Regions from separate parts of the Homo sapiens genome. Here all the other regions are linked to region 3. The links are contacts of gene promoters, found by promoter capture Hi-C in blood cells and fetal thymus (Javierre and others, 2016). All regions are on one chromosome and are shown on one strand. Each heading gives the region's core, a stretch centred on a gene start or on the middle of the fragment in contact. The rest is flanking DNA. Distances are from core to core; before and after follow the strand shown.

Region 1 (5,598 bases), core at 1,720-4,219, 270 kb before region 3:
CCCTGGTGGGCCTAGATGAAGACGCTCAAGGACCCTCGTGACTTGGCCGAGACAGGGGAAGGGAGAAGTTGAGTCGGGCAAGGAAGAGATGCTAAAGCCTGGGGAATTAAGAACATGCCAGAATCATCCCGAGGGAGTCTGGAATTAGGGAGGGTGAGGACTCGCTAGGATCGTCCTGTGGATCTGGTGAGTATACCCTGAGCTGAGCCTGACCTTGGTGATGTGGGGAGCCTCCATGACGGCTCCCCCTGAGATTCAGGTGGGAGAAGATGCACCGTCTGGAGGCCTGGCCCATCCAGACTCCCAGGTAACCCCGAATACTCTTTTTTCAGGCTACAGCAGGAGCTGATGACCCTCATGGTGAGTGATTAAGTGCCCAGAACCCCAGCCTTCCATCCAATTTTCAGTAGCCTCCTTTTTTCCGTCAGCTTTTTTGCTAGACATAGGGGTAATGTAATTTGCTCCCTCCTGGGAAAGAAGTTCATACACCCCACCTACACCATTTCTTCCAGCAGTCCCTCCTCCCAATTCCATCCCCCCACACGAAGTTATCTCGAACACTTCCCTGAAGTCATACAAGACCCTCCCTATCCAGTGTGTCCCTACTTCCTAGCCCCAACCAAGCTTTACCCACACCCAACTCCCCGCCCTTCTTGGTATTTCTAGCCTATGAATTTGGTTGCTTTATTTTGGATCAGAGTGATGAGATTAAGGGGAGGCTGGGCGCGGTAGCTCACACCTTATAATCCCAACACTTTGGGGGGCTAAGGTGGGCGGATCACTTGAGGTCAGGAGTTCGAGACCAGCCTGGCCAACATTGCAAAACCCTGTCTCTACTAAAAATACAAAAATTATCCAGGCATGGTGGTGCATGCCTGTAATTTCAGCTACTCGGGAGGCTGAGGCACAAGAATCATTTGAACCGTGGAGACAGAGGTTGCGGTGAGCCGAGCGCACCACTGCACTCTAGCCTGGGCGACAGAGTGTGTGTGTGTGTCTGTCTCTGTCTATCTCTCTCTCTCAATCTCTCTCTCTCTCTCTCTATATATATATATATGTAAATATATATTTTTTAGTAGAGATGGCATAACCCCATCTATATCTCATATATATACACATATATATGTGTGTGTGTATACATATATATGTGTGTGTGTGTATGTGAGCATATATATATATATATATATATATATATAAAATTAAGGGGAAAGCTCACCCACTGACCTTTGCTATGCCCAAAAGTGTACTCCACATTCCAACAAATGTGTTTTCTCCCCAGATGTCTGGCGATAAAGGGATTTCTGCCTTCCCTGAATCAGACAACCTTTTCAAATGGGTAGGGACCATCCATGGAGCAGCTGGAACAGTAAGTGTAGGGCTGGGATGGGTGAGTGAGTCTGGGGAAAGGTGGGAAGTGAGATCCAAGTGCGAGCTCTGCTTCAAGCCTTTGGCGGAGCAAGACACTCCTCCTGTGACTGTTTACATTCTCTGAGCCATGTGGCCTTGTTCTTTCCCTCTGTGCAATAAAGGGTGGGTTTAAAGCAGGGCTGCCTATCTTAGATGTTTACATGGGGGGACAGACAGCAAGGAAATGGATGAAGTGAGGACTTTGGCCAATAGGGCCAGATCTCAAGAAGGCAGCTTCCCATTGCTGCAGATCAGGTTTAAGATGAGTCAGAAGTCCAAATCTGTGCCAAATCTAATTTTTACGTATTAGCAACTAATATTCTTTTTTTTTTTTTTTTGAGACGGAGTCTCGCTCTGTCGCCCAGGCCAGACTGCGGACTGCAGTGGCGCAATCTCGGCTCACTGCAAGCTCCGCTTCCCGGGTTCACGCCATTCTCCTGCCTCAGCCTCCGAGTAGCTGGGACTACAGGCGCCCGCCACCACGCCCGGCTAATTTTTTGTATTTTTAGTAGAGACGGGGTTTCACCTTGTTAGCCAGGATGGTCTCGATCTCCTGACCTCAAGATCCACCCGCCTCGGCCTCCCAAAGTGCTGGGATTACAGGCGTGAGCCACCACGCCCGGCCAGCAACTAATATTCTAATTGAACTAAAGCACAGGATGCCAATTTACAATCCTTAGACCAAAGAGTCACTGATGTCTCCACCAGATAAGAGGAAAGCATCAGGCTAGGCATAGTGGCTCACACCTGTAATCTCAGCACTTTGGGAGGCTGAGGCAGGCAGATCACATGAGCCCAGGAGTTTGAGACTGGCCTGGGCAACATGGTGAAACCCTGTCTCTAAAATAAAAACTAAACTAAAAAAACTTTTTAAAAAGGCAGTGGGGAGCATCAGAACCAGCTCAACAGTTTGTCTACTGTCCGGTCCCAGAGAAACTCAAGATTCTAGCAAGCCCCTTGTGTGGGGCTTGGGTTGGGACATGAGGCTGCTGCTGGAGCTTACTCTGCAACTGTTTCTCCAAATGCCAGGTATATGAAGACCTGAGGTATAAGCTCTCGCTAGAGTTCCCCAGTGGCTACCCTTACAATGCGCCCACAGTGAAGTTCCTCACGCCCTGCTATCACCCCAACGTGGACACCCAGGGTAACATATGCCTGGACATCCTGAAGGAAAAGTGGTCTGCCCTGTATGATGTCAGGACCATTCTGCTCTCCATCCAGAGCCTTCTAGGAGGTGACTTTAGAGACCACCCCTCCCCTCCATGCAACTTGGGAACCTGTCAGGACTCCCTGGGGTCAGCCTCTTCTACCGCCTTGACCTTCTCTTTCTCTCCACCCACAGAACCCAACATTGATAGTCCCTTGAACACACATGCTGCCGAGCTCTGGAAAAACCCCACAGGTGAGTCCTCAGTCCTTGAGCCCAGGGTGATCCCTCCCCCAACCTTCAAAGGCTCCCTCAAACAAAAGGAGCCCAGTGACTTGGGACCGGGTTGGTTGGGGCAGGGTGGAGTGTCGGCAGCAACCCACTTCTGTTTCTGCCCCAGTGCTCCTATTTGCTATAAAATAGCAATTGTTTTATAGCAGAATAAAAATGTTTGGCGATAAATAATTTTGGGAAATTATTGGTGAGACCAAGGCAGGAGGATAGCTTGAGGCCAGGAATTCAGTAGAGTGCCTTGCCTGTGCCCTCCAGTCTCACTGGAAGCAAGCCCTTCCAGGAGAGCTGCCTAGATGGGCAGTGCAGGGAGAATGCCGGGCTGGGAAACCAGCCCCTCCTCCACCTCCTCCGACCTTTGCATCCCTGGTCCAGCTGCCTCTTGCCCACCTTAATTCATCCTGGGCCAGGCACAGTGGCTCATGCCTGTAATCCTAGCACTTGGGGAGGCCGAGGTGGGTGGATCACATGAGGTCAGGAGTTTGAGACCAGCCTGGCCAACATGGTGAAACCCCGTCTCTACTAAATACAAAAAAAATTAACCGGGTATGGTGGTAGGCACCTGTAGTCCCAGCTACTCAGGAGGCTGAGGCAAGAGAATCACTTGAATCTAGGAAGCAGAGGTTGCAGTGAGCAGACATCATGCTATTGCACTCCAGCTTGGTCAACAGAGTGAGACTCCATCTCAAAAATAATAAATAGTAAAGATTAACTCATCCTGTCTCCATCACTCACTGAGACCTGCCTGTTCTCTTCCAGCTTTTAAGAAGTACCTGCAAGAAACCTACTCAAAGCAGGTCACCAGCCAGGAGCCCTGACCCAGGCTGCCCAGCCTGTCCTTGTGTCGTCTTTTTAATTTTTCCTTAGATGGTCTGTCCTTTTTGTGATTTCTGTATAGGACTCTTTATCTTGAGCTGTGGTATTTTTGTTTTGTTTTTGTCTTTTAAATTAAGCCTCGGTTGAGCCCTTGTATATTAAATAAATGCATTTTTGTCCTTTTTTAGACAAGTTGTTGCGTTGTAATTTCACTAGGGTTGGAGGTACTCAGGGTAGGCAGAGGTGGAACTTAAGGATGTGGGGCCAAGCAATGGGGTGACAAAGATTTATTCCCTTGTACCTTATTTTATGACTCTGCATCTGTTTCTTCATCTATAAAATGAGTGTCACAATAATGCCTCCTGTCTATGGAGTCGGTGATGTGTACCAGCAATGTTAGTGAATGTTGGAGCTCCCTCAGCTGTGTTGCAGATGAGGCTGAGCCAGACCTTAGGCTGAAACCTACTCCTATAGCTGTAGAAGGAACAAGCGTGTGTGTTGGGGGGGGGATCCCAACACACAGCCACCCATGTTCTGTCCTGAAGAAGAATGCTTAGGTCACCCTAAGCAGGTCCAGGGCCTGGGGAGACAGCCAGGAAAAAAGCCCCTTCCCTGGCAGGACTCAGGTCTGAGCTCTGGTCTCCAGGCTCTAGCCCAGGTCCCCGGTGGAGCTCCACCTCCAAGGGGGCACAGTCGCCTCCTGCTGCATATCCCCCAGGGAGCCCCCAGCCCCTTGGGCTGCCTCTTTCCCCTGGCCTGATGAAGGCTCCAGTCTTTGAGCCCCTAGGAGGAAACACCCCTGCTGACCAGCTGGGTCCCCACAAGGGTCGGCAGGTGGAAGAGTAGGTTGAAGTGATAGGGCCCCCACAAAGCCCTTCAGGAAGATCTCCAAGGTAGATAAGCAGCATCCAGATGTGCTCCAACCTTGCACCCAACTCCTTCAGGTCTGTTAGCAGCTGGTTGGTTGTGCAAGCCTGAAGCGGGAGGGGTTTGGGATTGGAAGTTGGGTCCCTTCATGTCTATAATTGTGCTCTTAGGTCTCTCCTCTTGGGTTTTTTCTTAATCTAACATTCATACAAATACACTTGGGATCTTGTTAAATTCTTTTCTGTAGGTGTGAAGTGGAGCCTAAGATCCAGTCTGTTTATTTATTTTGGTTTCTAAATAGTTTCCAAGTGATGTCATTGCTGCGGTCTGCTTAAGAACAAAATTTAGAGCAATGTTCTTAGAATGTGGTCCTTCCAGCAGCAGCAGCATCACCCGGAACTTGTTAGGCAAATTCTTGACCCCAAACTGCCCTCCAGGTTCTGAAGGTCTCCCACGGTTGAAAATCACTAGGTTAGCGGATACTGGAGAAAACCAGAGCTCAGAACCTGGCACTAAATTAGTCAATATATGCTGGCCAGGGCCGGGTGTGGTGGCTCACTCCCTGTAATCCTAGCACTCTGGGAGGCGGAGGCAGGAGGATTGATTGCTTGAACTTAAGAATTCAAGACCAGTCTGGGCAACACAGTGAGACCCCCATCTCAAATAATAAATTTTAAAAGAAAAATAAATAAATCTTGGCCGGGCCTGGTGGTTCACATCAGCAATCTCAACATCTTGGGAGGCCAAGGTGGGAGGATCACTTGGGGCCAGAAATTCAAGGTTATAGTAAGCTTATCACTCCAGCCTAGGCAGCAGAGTAAGACCTTATCTCTAAAAGAAATGTTTCGAATACTAACTGTGGTGGATGTGTTTTCATCTGCCATGTGGTCCTTGGTCACGGTGTTTGGTACCTTAGATGGCCACATGGCCTGCCTTGGGCCAGTCACAGGTCTAAACTGTAGTTCAGATTCAACTGGTGTTGTCTGGAATTAATCACTGGGAGAGAGTAAAGTTATTTTACTAATGGGGTTGCTAAAAGAGAAGGGAGTCAGTCTCAGCTGCTGGGGGAG
Region 2 (6,194 bases), core at 195-2,694, 310 kb after region 3:
CAGTAAGCACCTGTGTCTGCTTAAACCCAATGGCTCTGATTTCTTCCACTCCTGTGAACCAGGCTGGCTCCAAACAGACAGGGACAGGCATGAACTGTGCAGGCTGTCTGGTGTTCCCTCTGCGTCCCAATACCCTCTAACTACACAGTATTTCCATTGTTTAACAGTTTGTTTTGGCTGGGCGCAGTGGCTCACACCTGTAATCCCAATGCTTTGGGAGGTCAAGGCAGGAGGATCACTTCAGGCCAGGAGTTCGAGACATTTCTCTACAAAAAATAAAAATTAGCTGGGCATGGTGGCGTGTGCCTGTAGTCCCTAGCTACTCAGGAGGCTGAGGCAGGAGAGTTGCTTGAGCCCAGGAGTTCGAGGCTGCAGTGAACTATGATCATGTCACTGAACTCTAGCCTGGGTGACAAAGTGAGATCCTGTCTCTATTAAAAAATAAAAATAAAATAAAAAACTGTTGTTTTCATATCAAACATTAGAATAAGTCTTACTGAAAAATCAGGGTTAGCACCCCTAACTCTAGTTGAAAGAAAGAGGAAAACCTCCCTCTGCTTTTCTCCCTATCGAAAAGAAACATCAGGAGATAGGAGACTAGAAATAATTCTGTTCTCCAGATAATATTCCCAGGATAAAGGATCTCCTTATAGGGAACCCTTCCAGCACGTGTTTGCTTACTCCCTTCATTTTCATTCTAGAAAGGAAGTAGAAATTAGGTCAAAGGAATTCAGTAACATTGCAAAATTCTCAGGGTTATAAATAGCCTCTTGCTCCGCCACTCAGCAGTACTGTAGCTCAATTGCAAACCACCAGCATAAGGGAGCTGTAGTTCCATATCCAGGCCCAGAGGGCCCCTTCCGGATTAAACAACTCCCCACCCTTCTACCTTCCACTCCTCTTTAAGCATTACAGATATAAGGATGATTTGGAAAACTCAAAATGCTACAAAACAGGAGACAGGCACACACTGACCTGATGACAATTTTACTATAAGTCATAAGAATGAAAGGCCAGTTTTTCAAACACAGAGCTGGGAAAAGTAGAGAAAAATAGGAACATTAGTGTCTCCAATGGAGCAGTCTCTAAGTGGCTTCTAGAAGGTGTGCTTATAAAATCAGCACTGTTACAGAAGCCCCATGGAGCTTTATCAATCACCCATGCAGTGACTGCTGCTTCACGGAGCTGGATTCTGAGAGCAGGATTGGAAACCGAATCTTAAGGAATGAAGTGAAAGATGATCTCCTCCTATTAGTAAGGAATTTGGGATGAAGAATGCCAGGTTTCCAGCTCCCCTCCTTCCCCCTATTCCTTTCAGGATAAGAACGGATGTGTACTTTTTGTTCAGTTATTTGGCTTTTGATTTGGTGAAGGAGGCATGGGTAAGTTTGGTTTATGTTTCCTGCAACAGAATGCAACCTCATCAAGAAGGCAAGTTGGAGTCACGCCCTTTCTAATCGAGAACACAATCTCTATAAAGGCTTCCCCCTCTGAAATCTTCTCATCTGAGAAGTGATTCAACTTCCCTTAGTTCAGTCCACTGAATGACGATCAGACTCTGAGGTACAGAAAAGGGAGGATTTGACTGGCAGAGATTAAGGTTCTTATGTTTACTGCTGGAAGCCCTGGGAAGGACCACCATACCAACAGCAGCTGAGGTTTCCCCTTTTTGTTGAAGTATGTTAGACACAGGACTCATTCACACATGGTAAAAAGCCACAAACTTACATAGAGGCAAAGGTGTGGTGAGAAGGGGTGTGGGGGCAGGGGAACTATTTGGGTTTCTTCATCTTGATTCCTGCTGTAAGAATGGCCTGGGTCTTCTCTTATCCTGCACAGACACCTTCTGTAGTGTTCCTATACTTAAAGAATAGTGCTTAAGTAAGCTCCTTAGCAGAGCATTCAACTTACTCCAGTTCCACCGTGGCTCTGTGGTGGAACTGGCTTTCAGATTCGCTTTTGCAGATGCCATGTTCTCACCAGACCACCTGTTCCCTGAAAAACCATGCTCTTCTGAGTCTGTATGTTTGCTTGTGCTATTATTTCCTCTTCCTTGTCCAGCTGGCAAACTTCAACTCAACCTTCAAGGCCCAGCTAAGATAATCACTCTTCTATGTGGCTTTCCTAATCCTCTCACCTCAGGGAAAATTAATTGCAGCCTCATCTGTGATCCCAGTCTTCTGTACATACCTTCCTGATCCTACTGATTTATAATTCTCTATGTGCAGTCTCTTCCCTGGCTACGATAGGTGTGATGTGCATACCAGCAGCGGCAGTATCCCTGGGAGCCCAGACCCACCCAATCAGAATCTGCCTTCAAACAAGATCCTGAGGTGGTTCAAGTGCATGTTCAAGTCTGGGACATAGGCTCTAGATCAGATAAGGTCCGAGAAACAGTGGTTCTCAACTCTGGTTGTGCACCATCAACACACACCCCAGGTCATTTATAAACTCTCAGATGCTCAGGGTTGACCCACAGCTCCAGGAGAGTTGACAACCTGAGGGCAAGGACTCATGAAGCCTAAGTCTATTCCCCCATCTACTCTTCCCCCAGTTTGCAGCACACTGCCTGCCACATAGCTGTGTCCACAGAATTCCACAGGAAAATTCCCTCCAGGGTGCCTCCAGACCTAAATGCCTTCAGAAGAGAGTGAAAACACTACTGACTGAGGATTATTAATTGCCTAGAACTTTCCAAATCCCTAACCACAATGACTGAAGAGATGAATTTACAAAAAGTCAGTGTTTACAAACCACTTACCTCAGTTTTTGGAAATGAGAGGAAACAGAAACTGAGATGGAAAATACAGATGAACTTCAGAATTAAACTTTAGAAAACCGTGATTGCACAAGGAGATGGAGCTTGGGTAGGGAGGGAGTGTGGTGTGCTGGGAAGAGTCCTGGGTTACAACTAAAATCTCGGGCTGTGAACTCCTTCAATACTGACCATAACAGCACAGCATTGTTCTCAGTGTAAAATCAGGCCAAGCCCTTTCATTACATAAATAAGGGAACTGAAGTCCAGAGAAGCTGGCAAGGCCATGCCACCAGTTAGGGACAAAAGAAGGCCTAGGCCCCCACTTCTGGTTTAGTCCTCCTCCTGCAGCACAGCTTTGCCACAAACACAAGCCTTTCTGGACCTCAGGTCCTGATCTACATCGGGGGCTGGACTAGATGTTTTTGAGCTTTCTTCCAACTTTGGCCTTCTAGTGAGGAAGTGTAGCTTAACAAGTTAGGAGCTGTGTTCTGGAGTGGGAAAGGCCTGAACTTGGATCTTAGCACTAACGATTTTCTTACCTGTAAAATGGGGATTAGCATCAACTCTACCCCGTAAAGCTGTTGTGAGCATCAAGTGGGATAATAAAGCACTAAGCATAATAGCAGAATTCTAACCGTGTGAACCTGAAGAAACTGCAAAAGCTCTGAAACCACGTTTCCCCAACACAGTAAGCCCTACCTGCTAGGCAGGTATGTTGTGTATTGTTGACAAAATAAGAGAGCATATGTGAAGGCAGTCCGGGAGGAAAGTCAATACAAAAGGCAAAGCATTTGTTGGTGTTCCACTATTATTATTACTATTTCCCAGTGGAAGAACTTTGGAAAATGTTATGATCAGTTCCAAAGCAGCAGCTAATACAATGCCTGGCAAATAAGAAGTGCTCAACAAATATTTTCTAGTGACTCACATGAAACCAGCATAGCATGCCTAATAGGGTTATAAATTCAAATGTCTTGGGCAGCCAAGCAGGTAAGTAAATAAAACAAGCAGCCTCCATGTAGGGTCTGTAACACTGCAAAGTACCACCTTGCCTAGAGGAGTTTAAATCCAACATTTTTAAAAACACATCATGCAGCTTGGCCAAGACAGCCACTTTGCAGCCTCCAGCCCATACTGATTCTGGCTCTTCATTACACCTCATGATGCCTTGCATACCATCTAGTCATTTTATGTGATCCAGTCTTGTCTTTCCAAGTATACCTGAAGCATCCTGAAGATGAAGGCTATGACATACACCGCCCAATCACCAAAAATGGCTTACAACAGTGCTGGTCACGTGGTAGATACTCAGTGAGCAATTGCTGAACTGGGGCTGTAGGCCGGGCGCCGTGGCTCACGCCTGTAATCTCAGAACTTTGGGAGGCTGAGGTGGGCGGGTCACTTGAGATCAGGAGTTCAATACCAGCCTGGCCAACATGGTGAAACCCCGTCTCTACTAAAAATACAAAAATCAGCCGGGCACGGTGGCAGGCACCTGTAATCCCAGCCACTCAGGAGGCTGAGGCACAAGAATCGCTTGAACGTGGGAGGTGGAGGTTGCAGTTAGCCGAGATGGCACCATTGCACTCCAGCCTGGGCGACAAGAGTAAAACTCCATCTCAAAAAAAAAATAGAAAAGCCAGGCTATAAACTCAAGCCTAGTATTCTCAGCACCTCTGAGATGCTGCATGGTATGTGTTTTTTTCTATCCAGGTCCTGGGACCAGACTTAGTCCAGGCTGGGCCGAGGTATGGTGACCAGGTCAAAGGACTTGCCTTGCAGGGTTTTCTTCAACTGCATCAAATATGCTTCTTGCTGAGCCACCTTGGCAGGTGGTACTGCTACATCTGGACACATTATCTGAGCACAGAACAAGCTAGAATATGCTGTACACTGAAGTTTTTAAAGAAGTTTGGTCCTGACTTCCTGTACCCTCAAACTTCCTTTGCACCTCCTAGAGTCCACATCAGATATATAGAAAGACCAGACTGAAGATGAACAGATAGAGGTCCTAATCTCACCTCCTCCACTTACAAACTCTAGAATTATCCCCGGCAGGCAACCTCTTTTAGAAGCTTCACTATCGATATCAGTAAAGTGCAGATAACAACAGTTATCTCAAAAGACTCTAGAGGGTATACAAAGTGTGTGACACTGTACAGCCCAATACCACAATCCCTGGCCATAGGTGGTTACTAAGCACTTGAAAAGTGGCACAGGCTGCCCTCTGTGTAAAATACAAACCAGGTTTCAAAAACTTAGTACAAAAAACAAGAACGTAAAATATCCCATTAATAATGTTTTAATATTGATTATGTTATAATAATATAATTTTGGAATATATTGTGTTAAATATATTACTAAAATAATTTCAGCTGTTCCATTTTTTAATGTGGCTACTAGAAAATTTAAAATTATATCTATGGCTCACATTACATTTCTATTAGACAGCAGCATCACTCTAGCATAGAGCCTGGCACACAAAAAGCATTCCAAATGTCAGTTTCATTCCCCTGCAGGTAGGACATCAGTGACCACGATTCACATCCCCTTCCTCTTGCCAAATTCAAACCCTGCATCTATTTATTTGGTAAATATTTATATTGCCTGGCCCTGTGTGAGATGCTAGAGATACTACATGAAGCAAAACCGACACTATCTTCTTCGTGGACCTTACAATCTGGTGGGATGGACAGAGAAATATCAATACTTTTGTAAATAAATGTAAAATTGCAGTTGTGCAAGTGTTGTTAAGGACAAGTACCCAGGGTGATAAACGTGGGGTACTGGTCGAAAAGTCAGGGACAGGGATGCCTCCCCTGCAGAAGTGATGCTTAAGCGGAGATCTGAAGGATGAAGAAGAGTTTACAAGACTAAGCCAGGGGAGGAAGAGCAGACCAGGGAGGAGGAATACTAAATAAAAGGCCCCAAGGAAGGCAGGAGCTTGGGATGTAGAAGGAACAGAAAGAGGCCAGTGTGTGGAGAGCACTGAGCAAGCGGACGGACGAGTAGACAGACTTGGGAGAGGTCAGCGGGACCGGATCTCCAGGGCCTGGGTGAGGTTCTGGATCTGACCCTACAAAGGGGTGGGACGCCGGGCCAGTTTCATGCCCTAAGCATCCAGATCTGCTCTGCATTTCTCGGCTGGGCGCGGTGGCTCACGCCTGTAATCCCAGCACTCTGGGAGGCCGAGACGGGCGGATCACTTGAGGTCAGGAGTTCGAGACCAGCCTAACACGGTGAAACCCCGTCTCTACTAAAAATACAAAAATTAGCTGGGCGTGGTGGCAGGCGCCCGTAATCCCAGCTACTTGGGAGGCTGAGGCAGGAGAATAGCTGGAACCTGGGAGGCGGAGGTTGCTGTGAGCCGAGATCGCGCCATTGCACTCCAGCCTGGGCGGCAGAGCGAGACTCCGTCTCGGAAAGGTTTCAAAAA
Region 3 (5,591 bases), core at 495-2,994:
TCTAGAAAAACTCCTTCCAATGAGCCTTGCAATATGGATTCGCTGGGACATTCTACAAGGAAAATCAGTGTTTCTAAGTTTTAGGTTAAGAGAAGTGTCAGAGGTTTCAAAGGCAATCTGAAGAGTGACAGATGAGCTCAAAGAAAGGCAAAGAAATCACAATAAAGGAAGAAATGGATGTTAACAAATAGCCAAGTGATTTCTAATATCCACAATGCAAAGCATGGGCTTTACTGGTTGCAAAAAGTAGACACAAAGTTAGTTTTCACACCCAGACTGACTCATAGAGAAAACATTAAATTAAGAGTTGTCAAAACTCACAAAAGCTTCCCCAGCATTTGTAGAAACATCTTTTTATGAGCCAACAGGGGGCTACGACATCACAACGCTGTAAGAAAATTCAGGCACACCGGGTGCACCTGAGTGAACACAGTTCTTGCAGTTCCCTGGGACTAACACTTTTAAGTCAACAAAGAGAACAGTTTACAAGAAAGCTGTTACATTATCCCTGAAGAGCCCAGGGCATTCATAGAATCTGCTTTGCCTCAGGAAAAATTCTGTGCACAGAGTGCAAGCCAGAAGAACCACAATTAATCAGCTACTCCTCGGGCAGCGTTTCCCAAAGTGTGGAACGCAGAATAATTTCAGGAGGAACAAGGACGCACTGTTTATTTCAACAGACAGATATTTATTTTTTTTATAAGCATTAGAAAAATAACTGGCTTTCCAGTACCCGGTTTGTGATTGAAGTTGCCGCCTTAAATATATTTAAGGAGAAAAAAAGAGTCAGTTTGAATTTTTTAAAAAATGTAACATTTGGTAAATAGCAGTACAGATGGTCCACGGACATAAAGGTGCAACGCGAGACTGAAACGTGTGCAACGCCGTCCTAAGAGAAGCCCCTCGCCCGCTGGCGGGGAGCGGACAGTGCCCCGCGCCGGGAGCTTGGAAAGCCGGCCGGATCGGACGCTGGCGCTGAGCTACGTGGTAAACCCGGGAACAGTTCCTCTCCCCGTTCTCTGGGCCCGAGGTCCGCGCCTACAAAACGCGTGGGGTGTCACACCACAAGGAGACACCCCGAGAATGCGGTCAGGGGCCGCGAGACGGTGGCGGGGGACAGCGCTCAGTACACCGCTCGGCGCTGCACGCCTGGAGAACGCCCGGTGCCACGGGACGCCTTGGGCCCGGTTCGAATCCCGACTGCGCCACTGACTCGCTGAGGACCCGCGGGCGAGCGACTCCACCGTTTCGACAGGGGGTGCGGGATGTGCGGCTCAACCAGAGAAGCCTTGAGGACTCCTAGTGACCGACCGTTCGTGCACAGACAGGCGGCTGCGATGCGACGCCGCCGACCTGCGTCCACCACAGAGAACCGTAGGCCGCCTCGGCCGGCCGGGCCTGGGCCTGACGGGAGCCGGAGGCGGCCGCGCCCCGCACCGGGCATGCGCAGCACCGCGCGCACCCGGAGAGGAGCCGAGACCGTGGCCGCGCGTCGAGTGGGCCTTCCCGCCTCAGCCTCCCCGTCCGGCCAGGCCCCCCACAACGGCCTGCCCGTCAGCCCCACGCCTCGGCTGACGGCCAGCGCTTCCCGGCACTCACCGCTACCAGCGCGGCGGGCTCCCGGCCGCTCCTTCGCCTCAGGCCCGCCGCTGCCGCCTCCGCGTCGGCCCACCTGCCCGCCGTAGGACAAAGGCGCCACCAACCGACCGGCGCGGGCACGAGGCAATGGCGGCCGGGCGGAGAGTGGAGATGGGGGCAGAGGGCGCGCACGTAGCGGCAGGCGCGGCACTGTCGCAAGACCGCGCGTGTTTACGGCAGGGCTGAGTTGGGGCGTCGATCTCCTTGGCAATGAGGGCCCGGGAAGTGGCTCTCGGGCGGGAGTTGAGAACGCAGGGAGTTGCCTAGCAACAGCGTCCTAGGCTGAGGATGGGCCCCACGGTGGTCGCCTCAGCCCCCGCCCCAGAGTACTTTTTTTCTGTTTTCAGAGCACATTCCCTCCTCCCTAACTGTGGGAACAGAACATTCAAATCCCCAAATACCTTGATTTAGTCTTGCATAAAACTGAAAGCAAAAACCCCAAATCCCTATACACGTGTGTATTGGAGAATATATATAGTCCTGTAACCTCCGGACCACAAGGAACAAAGAGAGCAGAAAGGTGGAGAAAATGTTGTATTTAAATTTACATTTAAATAGGCTCTGTACTCTATTAGTTTCACTGACAAGCGGCAAAAGGTTTCTGGAGATATAGTCACAGGTTCTTCTTGAGTTATTTATTCTTGGAATATTCGTTCAACGTCAAAAATTTCCCGGAATGTAACTGTTGACCGTGAAGCCTGTAAAATGTTGTACTGTTCATTTCATGTATAGAATACATTTGTCACAGGGAATGGGATTTGCTCACACAATAGTAAATGCACTCTATTAATCACAGCCATAGCTATATTAATCAGGTACTCTTTTATTAGTGTTGGAAACGCCTCAGACTCCATGGGGTCTAGTTCTTCTCCTTGCGAATATTGCCTACTAAGAAAAAATGGTGCCTGCGGAATTTAAACACTACAAGAAGCCAGATTTCTTTGACATCTACCCCTATGCTCACTCCACTCATTTATTCACTGAATGTTTATTACATACCTACTATGTAGCCCTATACTTATTATATGCCTGCTTGTTAGGCGCTGTTATGAGCAAATGCAGACCCTTTTCTGCTATCTTTGAGATTACAGTCTGGTGAAAGCATTAGACGAATAATCACACTTGAGTGTGTAATTGCAAACTGAGATAAACGCTGTGATGGAAAGAAATAGGGATTCTCAATGGTTGTAACTAGAACTTTAGTTTACTCACAGGCAAAGTGGGTTATTCCAATTCCCACTTTATAAGACTGTATGAAATTAGAAATGAAGACATAAAGTCTGTCAAATAATGGATACCCAACAAATGTTCATTCTTATTCCTTTCCCTCCAATATAGATCCTAATACTATGAAAATTTAAGAAGAATCATATTAATTAGATGATTAAGATAACCAAGCTTAGGGAAAAATGTTGGTTTAGAGGTGAGTGGCAGTACCTCAAGTGGGTAGTGGACTTTAGCCAAAAGATGTATTCAGTGACTTGTGTATTAAGTGTTTAATGAGTGTTTTTTATGCACTTGATTTTGTGGAGAGTAGAGAGTAAGGTAGACAAAATCCTTGTGCTTAGGGAGCTCATGGCCTATTAGGGAATATGAGCAATAAACAAACGATAATATATAGTGTTTGATGAGTATTTTTGATAGAGGAGCAAGTTAATTTTATGAAGAAAGATTCTTGTAGGGAGGCAGGTGCTCAGGACTTGGTGACTTCTTATTTAGATGTTTGCTTTACATAATAGGTAACATCTATTGTGTGCCTACCATGTGCTGAATCCTTTACACATATCATCTCATTTAATCCTCACAACCCTATTGAGAGGTGACAGCGTGCTGGCAGCCCTCACAGCCCTTGCTCACTCTCGGTGCCTCCTCGGCCTCGGCGCCCATTCTGGCCGCGCTTGAAGAGCCCTTCAGCCCGCCGCTGCACCATGGAAGTCCTTCTCTGGGCTGGCCGAGGCCGGAGCCGGCTCCCTCCGCTTTCGGGGAGGTGTGGAGGGAGAGGCACGGGCGGGAACCGGGGCTGCGCGCGGCGCTTGCGGGCCAGCTAGAGTTCCAGGTGGGCGTGGGCCTGGCGGGCCCCACACTCGGAGCGGCCGGCCCGCCCTGCTGGCCCCAGGCGTGAGAGACTTAGCACCCAGGCCAGCAGCTGTGGAGGGTGCGCCGGATCCCCCAGCAGTGCTGGCCCACCGGCGCTGCACTCGATTTCTCACCGGGCCTTAGCTGCCTCCCCGTGGGGCAGGGCTCGGGACCTGCAGCCAGCCATGCCCGAGTCTCTCCGCCCCACCAACCCTCCTCCCTCGGGCTCCTGCGCGGCCTGAGCCTTCCTGACGAGCGCAGCCCCCTGCTCCAAGGTGCCTGGTCCCATCGACCGCCCAAGGGCTGAGGAGTGCCGGTGCACGGTGCGGGACTGGCGGGCAGCTCCACCTGCGGCCCAGTGGAAGATCCACTGAGTGAGGCCAGCTGGGCTCCTGAGTCTAGTGGGGACTTGGAGAACCTTCGTGTCTAGCTAAGGGATTGTGGGTGCACCAATCAGCACTCTGTGTCTAGCTCAAGGTTTGTGAACACACCAATCAGCACCCTGTGTCTAGCTCAGGGTTTGTGGATGCACCAATCCACACTCTGTATCTAGTGGGGACTTGGAGAATCTTTATGTCTAGCTAAGGGATTGTGAATGCACCAATTGGCACTCTGTATCTAGCTCAAGGTTTGTAAATGCACCAATCAGCACTCTGTCTAGCTCAGGGTTTGTAAATACACCAATGGACACTCTGTATCCAGCTAATCTAGTGGGGACGTGGAGAACTTTTGTGTCCAGCTCAGGGATTGTAAACGCCCCAATCAGCACCCTGTCAAAACGGACCAATCAGCTGTCTGTAAAACAGACCAATCGGCTCTCTGTAAAATGGACCAATCAGCAGGATGTGGGTGGGGCCAGATAAGCGAATAAAAGCAGGCTGCCTGAACCAGCAGTGGCATCCCGCTCGGGTTGCCTTCCACACTGTGGGAGTTGTGTTGTTCTGCTCTTTGCTATCAATCTTGCTACTGCTTTTTGGGTCCACACTGCTTTTATGAGCTGCAACACTCACTGGGAAGGTCTGCAGGTTCACTCCTGAAGTCATTGAAACCACGAACCCACTGGGAGAAACAAATAACTCCAGACGTGCCACCTTAAGAGCTGTAACACTCACCTGGAAGGCCTGTAGCTTCACTCCTGAGCCAGCGAGCCCACGAACCCCCCAGAAGGAAAAAACTCCGAACACATGCGAACATCAGAAGGAACAAACTCCGGACACGACGTCTTTAAGAACTGTAACACTCACCATGAGGGTCTGCGGCTTCATTCTTGAAGTCAGTGAGACCAAGAACCCACCAATTCTGGACACACTGTAATATGTGTACTATATTCCTATTTTACAAATGAGACAATTGAGGCCAGTTAATTTGCTTGTCCCACAGAGATTATGTGGCATGGCCAGACTCACTGAACCTGTGCGGCCTGATGCCCAAAATGCTATTGTAACCACGAGTGATACTGTCTTCTGGGATAAGAGGTTCCCTTCCAAATCAGGGGGTACCTGATTGGTGTAAAAGCCTGTAACCCTTCAGAGGTGAGCACCAAAGTTTGACCAGGAGATAAATTGAAAATCTGCTACAGTGGAGGCCATCTGATTTCTGTCAGATAGATCTTTAAGCTCACTGGCTGTTAAAATTTGGTGTACAGTGGGTTACCCCTTACTGTAAGGGAAGAAAGGTATAGTTTAAAGTGTGGCCAGTACTAAAGAACGATGTGTGTTTCCTAGAACATATGAGTAGGCCTTGTGGTTTACAGGACAGCCAAGACAGGGCAATGAGCAATTCCACTCAAACAGCAAACTGGAGGGGGCAGCATTTGGTGCTCAGCAAATACCTGTTGAATGAAGAAAAAAAAAGAAGAAAGAGTAAATTCAATACCA
Region 4 (3,472 bases), core at 188-2,687, 270 kb after region 3:
GCACTTGTGCAGGGTGTGATTTGAGTAATGTCTGTCCCCTGAGAGGCTACGAGCGGCACAAAGATAGGGACCAGTAAGACCACACTGGCCTTACGCACAGCTGGTGTACTTTAAGTTCTCCGTCTGGTTTGATGACTGACAGAGAGCAGGCATGCGATTTTCAGGGGACTGGTCTGGTCTTTAGGGGTTAAAAATGGAGAAGGAAACCAACACTCTAACGGCTGGAACACTGTAAGACCAGGCTGTAACCACTACTCCCTGGAAGCAGAGCCTGCCTTACGGTATTGCCAAATGAAACCACTCCCAGCCTCCCTGTCAATCCAGCCAACCCTGATGAGTGCCCGGAGCATGCCGGGTAGACCTGTCTGTGCCTGGAGGAGCCTCAGGTCCAGTGTTATGTGATGATACCTGCTGCTTCATCTGGGTGCCCCCCTCAACCACAGATCCTCCTTTGAGACATTCCCATCCTATTGAAACGCCACCTTCTTCTCGAAGCCTTCCTAGGCTTCACGATCAGACACATTCTCCATCTCCCACCCCAACATTTCTGAAGGGAGCAGTTACATTCCATTCTGCACTCTGGAACTCTTGTTACTATTTCCCCTCCCCGGGGCAAACAGGGAGCTGGCTGTGTCCAAATGAATCTCTGGGGCTACAGTTGTCTTCAGAGGAGCTTTGGAAACCTGTGGCGGTATTTTGGGGATATGCTCCTGGCGTTCAGTAAGCAGGGATAAAGAAGGGGCAGTCCACATAGCCAATTACTGCTCTGCATCCCGCACGACTTTGACATCCATATAGGTGAAAGATTAGCTTATAATTATCTGAACCTAGAATGTAACTCTGTTTACATGTAAACACAGTGCAGTGTTTCCATGGTTCTGCTGTGAACTAACACTTCCAAGAATAAGACGCCTATGTACAATGAAGGGAGACTGAAAATGGTCAAAATTGGTCTCAAAATGGCACCAAAAGTGTCCATTCTGGAAAAACCACATCATCTACAGCAATGGCACTAGTGGTTTTCGAGGTGCGACACAACACGGCTGTGTCAGTCTGTGTCTGTGGCCATCACACTCCTAGAGGGTCCACACAGAAGGGACAGCTTCACTGCAACTTCCAGCACTATTGTGCCCAGAAACTTACATATTGAAACATATTTTGTTTTACTATCAATTACTTTCCTTTTATGTTATAGGGCATGGTTATTTATATTTTATTTTATTTTTTTTTTGAGACGAAGTTTCGCTCCTGTTGCCCAGGCTGGAGTGCAATGGTATAATCTCGGCTCACCACAAGCTCCGCCTCCCAGGTTCAAGCGATTCTCCTGCCTCAGGCTCCCTAGTAGCTGGGACTGATTACAGGCATGCACCACCACACCCGGCTAATTTTTTATATTTTTAGTAGAGATGGGGTTTCTCCATGTTGGTCAGGCTGGTCTTGAACTCCCAACCTCAGGTGATCCGCCCGCCTTGCCTCCCAAAGTGCTGGGATTACAGGCGTGAGCCACCGCGCCCGGCTGCATTTGTTGATTTTTAAAAAATTATGTGTAGGCAGTTTTTATTAATCATATGTTTCATTTTAGGGTAATAAAAGGGACTGTTACAAAATATTTGTAATAAAAAAGAGGTGTCAGATCCAATGAGTTGAGACTCCTACCTGACCTAATGCATTCTCATTCCTTCAAATGCCTTCTGTAAGCTGATGTCTTCCCAATATATGCCCCGGCTCTGATTCATGTGAACTCCAGAAGAATATCCAATGCCTACCTAACCTCTTCTTCCCTTAGATATCTAATATCAGGCATCTCACTCACATCTAGAGTGTCTGAAACTGACTCGTGTTTTCCACACCCCCATTTCATCCAAGCCTGCTCCTCTTCCTACTTCCCATCCCAGCAAATGGCTCCACTACTCTCCTAGTTGCTCAGGCCAAAAGCCTTAGGCTCATCTGATTCCTCTCTTCCCCTTAGCCCACATTCAATCAATAAATACCGTCAGCTCTATCTTCAGAAATATCCCAAATATGAGCACATGTCCTGAACTCCACCACTACCATCTCAGCCACCATCCTCTCCCCAAATGACTGCAGGAGTCTCCTACACGGTTCTCTCTACTTCTCCTGCAACCACCACCATCAGGCTCCTCCAACAAAGAGGGCGCATGGGCCTCAAACATACGTCTACAGATCTCAAAACCCACACTGTTTCCTCTACGCCAGGGTTTCTCAACCTGGGCGTTACTGCTGTTTGGGGACAGATAATTCTTTGTGAGAAGACCCATCCTCTACATGGCAGGATGTTTAGCAACATCCCTGGCCCATACCCACCAGACACCTGTCACATCCTTCCCCCCATCCCAAGTTGTGATACCCAAGAAATGTCTCTAGACACTGCCATATGTCACCTGAGGATCAAACCTGCTCCCTGTTGAGAACCACTGCTGACCCTGTCCTGTGACAGGCACTCACAGGACATGCTGGCACTAACAGAGCTTTCTTCTGAGCACTCTTCCCTCATGGCTCCTCCTGTGGCTTCCAAGCCAGGGAAGTCTGTTCACTCTTCTGTTAACCAACTTCTTGCAGCTCCTGCTTTTGCTGCATTTCCTGCTGCAGCACTGCAACACCGCAACACCCTCCCTCCACTGTTCAAATGCTGACCTTCCTTCACAGACCTGGCCCAGTTCCCCTGCCTCCAATAAGTCCCTATGGCTACCCCGCCTACAAGAAGCACTGTCTCAAATTTAACTTATTTTCTTATTGGGATTCAGAAGGTCACCTATGCCCAAACACAAAGCCAAATCTCAGCTAGAAGGGTCCCTGGAGATCATCTAGGCACTTAATGAGCATTTATCAAGCACTCCTGTAGGCCCACCACTGGAGACACAGACGTGAAACTGAAAAGGTCCCCACCCTTATTTTATAAGGGAAACAAGATTTAAAGGAGTAAACAACTCTTTTTGAAATCTCATTTGCTCAGGAAGGAAAGTCCATATTCTGCCCCACTTTCCACAGAGAGCAGCTTAGCTGGGGGCAGCAGTCACATCAAGGTAAGGCTGGCTGGTGCATCACTGGCACACCTGCTTCCCTCCATCTTCCTAACTGTAACTTGGGCAGCATGGTTTAGTGCTTAAGAGTGTGGGCTTTGGAGTTAGACACTGAGAATCAAATCCTGGTGTCCCTACTCACTACTGTGTGACCCTAAGTTACTTGACCTCTGGACTCAGTTTCTCCAACTGTAAAGTGGCATCAGGTACAGCATTAAATGCTGGCTCATGGTAGAGGCTTACTCCCCTCCTGGTCCCCTTAACAGTGAAACTTCCCCAGAGGACCCCGCACTGCCAGTCCAACTCCTTCACCCCCTGCTCTCACTTCAGCCCATCTCCACTGCTCCAATGAGTCACCACACCCTCCTCCCTGCTGCCCCTTCGAAGGCTTAGTCTCTATTCTTTTTGTTGTTGTTGTTGTTTTGAGATGG
Region 5 (5,420 bases), core at 402-2,901, 290 kb before region 3:
ACCCAGTTCCAATCCACTCTTCTCACAGCAGCCAGACTGATCTCCGTAAAGATGAATTAGATCATGTCACTCCCCATTTTAAAAACCCTTCAGTGACTTTCCTGTTGCAGGGAGAATAAAGTCTTAATGCCTTACCATGATCCTGCTGGGAAAACTGGCTAGCCATATGTAGAAAGCCGAAACTGGATCCCTTCCTTACACCTTATACAAAAATTAATTCAAGATGGATTAAAGACTTAAATGTTAGACCTAAAACCATAAAAACCCTAGAAGAAAACCTAGGCAATACCATTCAGGACATAGGCATGGGCAAGGACTTCATGACTAAAACACCAAAAGGAATGGCAACAAAAGCCAAAATTGACAAATGGGATCTAATTAAACTAAAGAGCTTCTGCACAGCAAAAGAAATGACCATCAGAGTGAACAGGCAACCTACAGAATGGGAGAAAATTTTTGCAATCTACTCATCTGACAAAGGGCTAATACCCAGAATCTACAATGAACTCTAACAAATTTACAAGAAAAAAACAAGCAACCCCATCAACAAGTGGCCAAAGGACATGAACAGACACTCCTCAAAAGAAGACATTTATGCAGCCAAAAGACACATGAAAAAATGCTCATCATCACTGGCCATCAGAGAAATGCAAATCAAAACCACAATGAGATACCATCTTACACCAGTTAGAATGGTGATCATTAAAAAGTCAGGAAACAACAGGTGCTGGAGAGGATGTGGAGAAATAGGAACACTTTTACACTGTTGGTGGGACCGTAAACTAGTTCAACCATTGTGGAAGTCAGTGTGGCGATTCCTCAGGGATCTAGAACTAGAAATACCATTTGACCCAGCCATCCCATTACTGGGTATATACCCAAAGGAATATAAATCATGCTGCTATAAAGACACATGCACACATATGTTTATTGTGGCACTATTCACAATAGCAAAGACTTGGAACCAACCCAAATGTCCAACAATGATAGACTGGATTAAGAAAATGTGGCACATATATACCATGGAATACTATGCAGCCATAAAAAGTGATGAGTTCATGTCCTTTTTAGGGACATGGATGAAGCTGGAAACCATCATTCTCAGCAAACTATCACAAGGACAAAAAACCAAACACCGCATGTTCTCACTCATGGGTGGGAATTGAACAATGAGAACACATGGACACAGGAAAGGGAACATCAGACACCGGGGCCTGTCGTGGGGTTGGGGGAGGGGGGAGGGATAGCATTAGGAGATATACCTAATGTTAAATGACGAGTTACTGGGTGCAGCACACCAACAAGGCACATGTATACATATGTAACAAACCTGCATGTTGTGCACATGTACCCTAAAACTTAAAGTATAATTTAAAAAAAAATGCCTTACCATGACCCACAGAGCCTACCCTCGACTGGCTTCTGCCTGCTTCTTTAACTTCATTTCATCTCACCTCTTTTTTATTGACTATACTCTGGCTGTTCTGAACTCCTTTCTGCTCCTCCAGCACAAGCTTAGGCCATTTCACTTGCTGTTCTTAGTACCTGGGGTACTCTACCCTTAACTCTATAAAGCCGGCTCCTTCTTTTCTTCAGATCTTAGTTTAAATATCAGAGAGGTCTTCCCCTCGCACTCCTACCTCTGCTAAAATCTTGAGCTTTACAAGAGTTGAGGCCTAATCTTGTTCACCACTGTATTCCCAGCCCTGGAATATGACTCTTAGTATGTGTACAGAGTTTGCTGAATTATTGAGTAAATGAAGGAACAAACAAATGATAAATGAACAAACAAGCTTCCTGCTCTAATAGAACTTAACAGCCTACTTAAGCAGACAGGTGTGAATTAGATTACCAACAAATGTGTGCATAATTACACATTGAGACTTGATCACCCTTCACTGGAAAGGGACAAAGTTTGGAGGAGAAGAGCATGAATCCAATTATGGATTAGCAGCTTTGAGCCATCCAAGCATAGACATGGGGCAGACTATTTGGTATATAAGTCTAGAGCTCAGAGGATAACCTTTTGTCTACAGTTGAATTATGGAATCGTGGTTTATAGATGTTAATTGAAGCTGTGAGAATAGGTGAGAGCAGATAGAATATGTAATGAGAGAGGATAGGGAAAAGAACCAGATTGAGAAGGAAAAGCCAGCAAAGAAGGCTAAGAAAGAACGGCCAGAGAAGTAGAAGGAACACAGGAAGTGTGGCCACAGGAGCCTGTAGAAAAGAGTGTTTCCAGAAGGGGGAGCCCTCAGCACTGTCAAATGCCACTGGCAGAGGTCGGGTGAACCCAATTCTCCACCTGCTGCACCATCTCCCCTCTGCCCATTCCATCCTTTTCTTTGTCAAATGAGCCAGGTGTTCCCACCTTTGAGCTTCTGCACTCCTCCCTGCTGCTGAAACACTTCTGCCCAGCTTTTTTTACAGCCTCCTTCACATCTCAACTCAGAGGCCACCTTCTGAGCAAGGCCTTCCCTGGCCATTCCCGCAAAGTAGCCCTTCCCCTCTGGTGGTTCTCTGTCACATCTGCCTGGGTTTTTTTCTTTTTTTCTCACAGCATCTATCATGATCCACAGTTACCTTGTTTGTTTCTGTGCTTATTATCCAGATCACCCACAAACTATAAGCTCCACAAGAGCTTGTCCTAGTTACTGCTGTGTCCACAGCACTTAGGTCCCAGGTACTCAGTATTTATTAAAAGAAAAACAGCAGGCCAGGCGCACTGGCTCACGCCTGTAATCCCAACACTTTGGGAGGCTGAGGCGGGCAGATCACGAGGTCAGAAGTGTGAGACTAGCCTAGCCAACGTGATAAAACCCCATCTCTACTAAAAATACCAAAAAAAAAAAAAAAAAAAATTAGCTGGGTGTGGTTGCACGCCTGTAATCCCAGCTACTCAGGAGGCAGAGGCAGGAGAATTGCTTGAACCTGGGAGGCGGAGATTGCAGACAGCCGAGATCGCACCACTGTACTCCAGTCTGGGCAACAGAGCAAGATTCCATGTCAAAAAAAAAAAGAAAAAAGAAAAACAGCAGCTTACTGAGGAGTATGTGTTATACTAATGTATTTAGTTTGAAAAAACATACAGTATGTATTTACATGGGAAAAGCAAGGAAGAATTTACATTGAAACATTAATAGTAGTTTATGTAATGAGATTCCAGGTTTTTCTTATTTTGCTTTTTTACATTTTTTAATTTTTCCAGCCATGATCATTAATTCAAGTTTTTTTAAAAATAGATATCTATTTCTATGCATATAAATATATATATGTGTGTGGCTGGGCGTGGTGGCTCATGCCTGTAATCGCAGCACTTTGGGAGGCCAAGGCAGGTGGATCACCTGAGGTTAAGAGTTCGAGACCAGCCTGGCCAACATGGTGAAACCCCGTTTCTAATAAAAATACAAAAATTAGCTGGGCATGGTGGTGGGCACCTGTAATCTCAGCTGCCTGGGAGGCTGAGGCAGGAGAATCGCTTGAACCCAGGAGGCGGAGGTTGCAGTGAGCTGAGATAGCACCACTGCACTCCAGCCTGGGCGACAAGAGTGAAACTCCATCTCAATTTAAAAAAAAAAAAAAAATATATATATATATATATATATATATATATATATATATATATATATATATATATATATATATTTGGAAGTGGGCCGATCACTTGAGGTCAGGAGTTCAAGACCAGCCTGTCCAACATGGTGAAATCCCGTCTCTTCCAAAAATACAAAAATTAGCTGGGTATGGTGGCGCACCCCTGTAGTCCCAGCTACTTTGGAGGCTGAGGCATGAGAATCACTTGAACCCAGGAGATGGAGGTTGCAGAGAGCCAAGATGGTGCTGCTGCACTCCAGCCTGAGCAACAGAGCAAGACTCTGTCTCCAAAAAAAAAAAAGGAAGTAGGTAGGGTGTGCTTACCCACCAAAATAGTGACTGGTAACACTTGGTCTTTTTCCCTTCAGGCTAAACTGCTCTTTTCAGATGGAGAAAAAGTAATACCCAGATTGACCCATGAGCTTCCAGGAATAAAGGTCAGAGTCACTGTGTTCTCGGGTATTGGAGCGGGAGGTCCTTCAGGCTGGGAGGCAAGTGAAATATGTGGGCCCAGGGAGGTTCCATGTACTTCCATTTGTAGGACCAGGCCCACACAGCATCATGCTGGATGGGCTTCTTTGGCCTGGGTCAGAGCGGGGCTGGAGAGCTGTAGTCCAGGGCTGTCTTCTGCAACTCCAGAAGACCTGCAGCTCCCAGGCACTGGCCTTCCACTGACTCCCTTCCCTTTTCTTTTAGCGTGGCCGTCAGGCAGAAGAAGAATGTGCCCATCGAGGAAGCCCCCTTCCTAAAAAGGTAAACCATTTCCTTGTTTTGTTTTCTGGCTGAAAAAAGGCTTGTCAGGCCGGGTGTGGTGGCTCACACCTGTAATCCCAACACTTTGGGAGGCCAAGCGGGGAGGATCACTTGAGCTCAGGAGTTTTGAGACCAGTCTGGGTAACATAGTGAGACCCTGTCTCTAAAATAAAAAAAAAATTAGCCAGGCATGCTGGCACATTTCTGTCGTCCTAGCTACATGAGAGGCTGCAGTGGGAGGATCACCTGAGCCCAGGAGTTCAAGGCTGTAGTGAGCTATGATCATGCCACTGCACTCCAGGCTGAGTAACAGAGTAAGACCCTGTCTCTCAAAAAAGGCTCTTCACTCCGCAAGGTACTGGGCTTCCTCAAAGCCCTTTTGAGCCTTCCTAGACATGAGAGGCAGTTTTTCTCCCTGTCCCTGTCAAACATCATTTGATCTCTTTGGAAAACCATCTCTGCCAAGTGACCCTGGACCTGCCAATGGGGTATGGGGAGTAACCACAGGGTCAGACCTCTGACAGCTGTTTTTTGTGGCAGAGGAAAGGACGGCCTCCTGGACACATCCTGTCAAGCGACCGGGCAGCCGCCGGCATGGTGTGAGTAGGGACCAACAGTGTGGTGAGAGCATAGGGGAGCAGACGGAGAGAGGGGCCCTGAAGGAAAAGAGTCCAGGGTTCTGTGCCTGTCAAAATCAGATCCATCAGCTTAAGTCATCGTGGAGGGGGGTTATCCTGGTTGGAGGGGTGAGGAAGGAGGGTAGTGAGGAGGAAATTGTTTTACCCCCTGAACGGTTTGGCCCAGCTTGATGAAAGATTAAACTCCAGAGGTTTGTCATTGTTAGTATATATTGGATGCTTATGACTGGTCTAAATACGTTACATACTTTACCTTTTAATCTTTATAGCCACCCTGTAAAGAAGATATCATTAATTTTTCAGATAACAGACTCAGAGAATTACTTGCCTAATGTCATATCGTTAACATTGCCTCCAAGACGGTCATTTTCAAATATATATTTTTTTAAGACTTAATTTTTTTAGAGCAGTTTTAGGTTCACAGCAAAATTGAGA

Evidence for each region. The method cuts DNA at HindIII sites, captures the fragments that hold promoters and counts their contacts. A CHiCAGO score of 5 or more calls a contact.
Region 1: a fragment that was not itself captured here is called in contact with the fragment with the promoter of NCOA5 in region 3 in 1 of 17 cell types (fetal thymus); the score reaches 5.2 in fetal thymus.
Region 2: a contact is called between a fragment that was not itself captured here and the fragment with the promoter of NCOA5 in region 3, in 3 of 17 cell types (fetal thymus, neutrophils and total CD8 T cells). The highest score is 6.7, in fetal thymus.
Region 4: a fragment that was not itself captured here is called in contact with the fragment with the promoter of NCOA5 in region 3 in 4 of 17 cell types (fetal thymus, neutrophils, monocytes and 1 more); the score reaches 9.4 in fetal thymus.
Region 5: a fragment that was not itself captured here is called in contact with the fragment with the promoter of NCOA5 in region 3 in 11 of 17 cell types (fetal thymus, total CD8 T cells, naive CD4 T cells and 8 more); the score reaches 10.4 in fetal thymus.

The regions. Positions count from the first base shown.
Region 1 is chr20:45,813,105-45,818,702 of GRCh38, forward strand. It overlaps UBE2C (ubiquitin conjugating enzyme E2 C), which reads left to right. Exons shown (of 6, transcript NM_007019.4): 2 at 333-360; 3 at 1,280-1,366; 4 at 2,437-2,641; 5 at 2,750-2,809; 6 at 3,605-3,848. The coding sequence ends at 3,663. Among named protein-coding and RNA genes, the nearest start is that of UBE2C, 3.3 kb to the left of the region's middle. RefSeq lists an enhancer at 5,511-5,598. The HindIII fragment of the contact is 4,695 bases long and covers 623-5,317 here.
Region 2 is chr20:46,399,706-46,405,899 of GRCh38, forward strand. All of the region lies in intron 1 of ELMO2 (engulfment and cell motility 2), which reads right to left. Among named protein-coding and RNA genes, the nearest start is that of ELMO2, 3.8 kb to the right of the region's middle. RefSeq lists an enhancer at 6,091-6,194. The HindIII fragment of the contact is 6,773 bases long and covers 1-4,831 here.
Region 3 is chr20:46,088,218-46,093,808 of GRCh38, forward strand. It overlaps NCOA5 (nuclear receptor coactivator 5), which reads right to left and starts at 1,745. Exons shown (of 8, transcript NM_020967.3): 1 at 1,600-1,745. RefSeq lists enhancers at 217-1,031, 969-1,178, 1,032-1,845, 1,859-1,908 and a silencer at 1,349-1,698. The HindIII fragment of the contact is 2,710 bases long and covers 325-3,034 here.
Region 4 is chr20:46,359,331-46,362,802 of GRCh38, forward strand. The region is part of intron 1 of SLC35H1 (solute carrier family 35 member H1); the gene reads right to left. Among named protein-coding and RNA genes, the nearest start is that of SLC35H1, 3.4 kb to the right of the region's middle. The HindIII fragment of the contact is 4,951 bases long and covers 1-3,472 here.
Region 5 is chr20:45,797,112-45,802,531 of GRCh38, forward strand. It overlaps DNTTIP1 (deoxynucleotidyltransferase terminal interacting protein 1), which reads left to right. Exons shown (of 13, transcript NM_052951.3): 5 at 3,963-4,031; 6 at 4,291-4,347; 7 at 4,888-4,946. Among named protein-coding and RNA genes, the nearest start is that of DNTTIP1, 7.9 kb to the left of the region's middle. The HindIII fragment of the contact is 279 bases long and covers 1,513-1,791 here.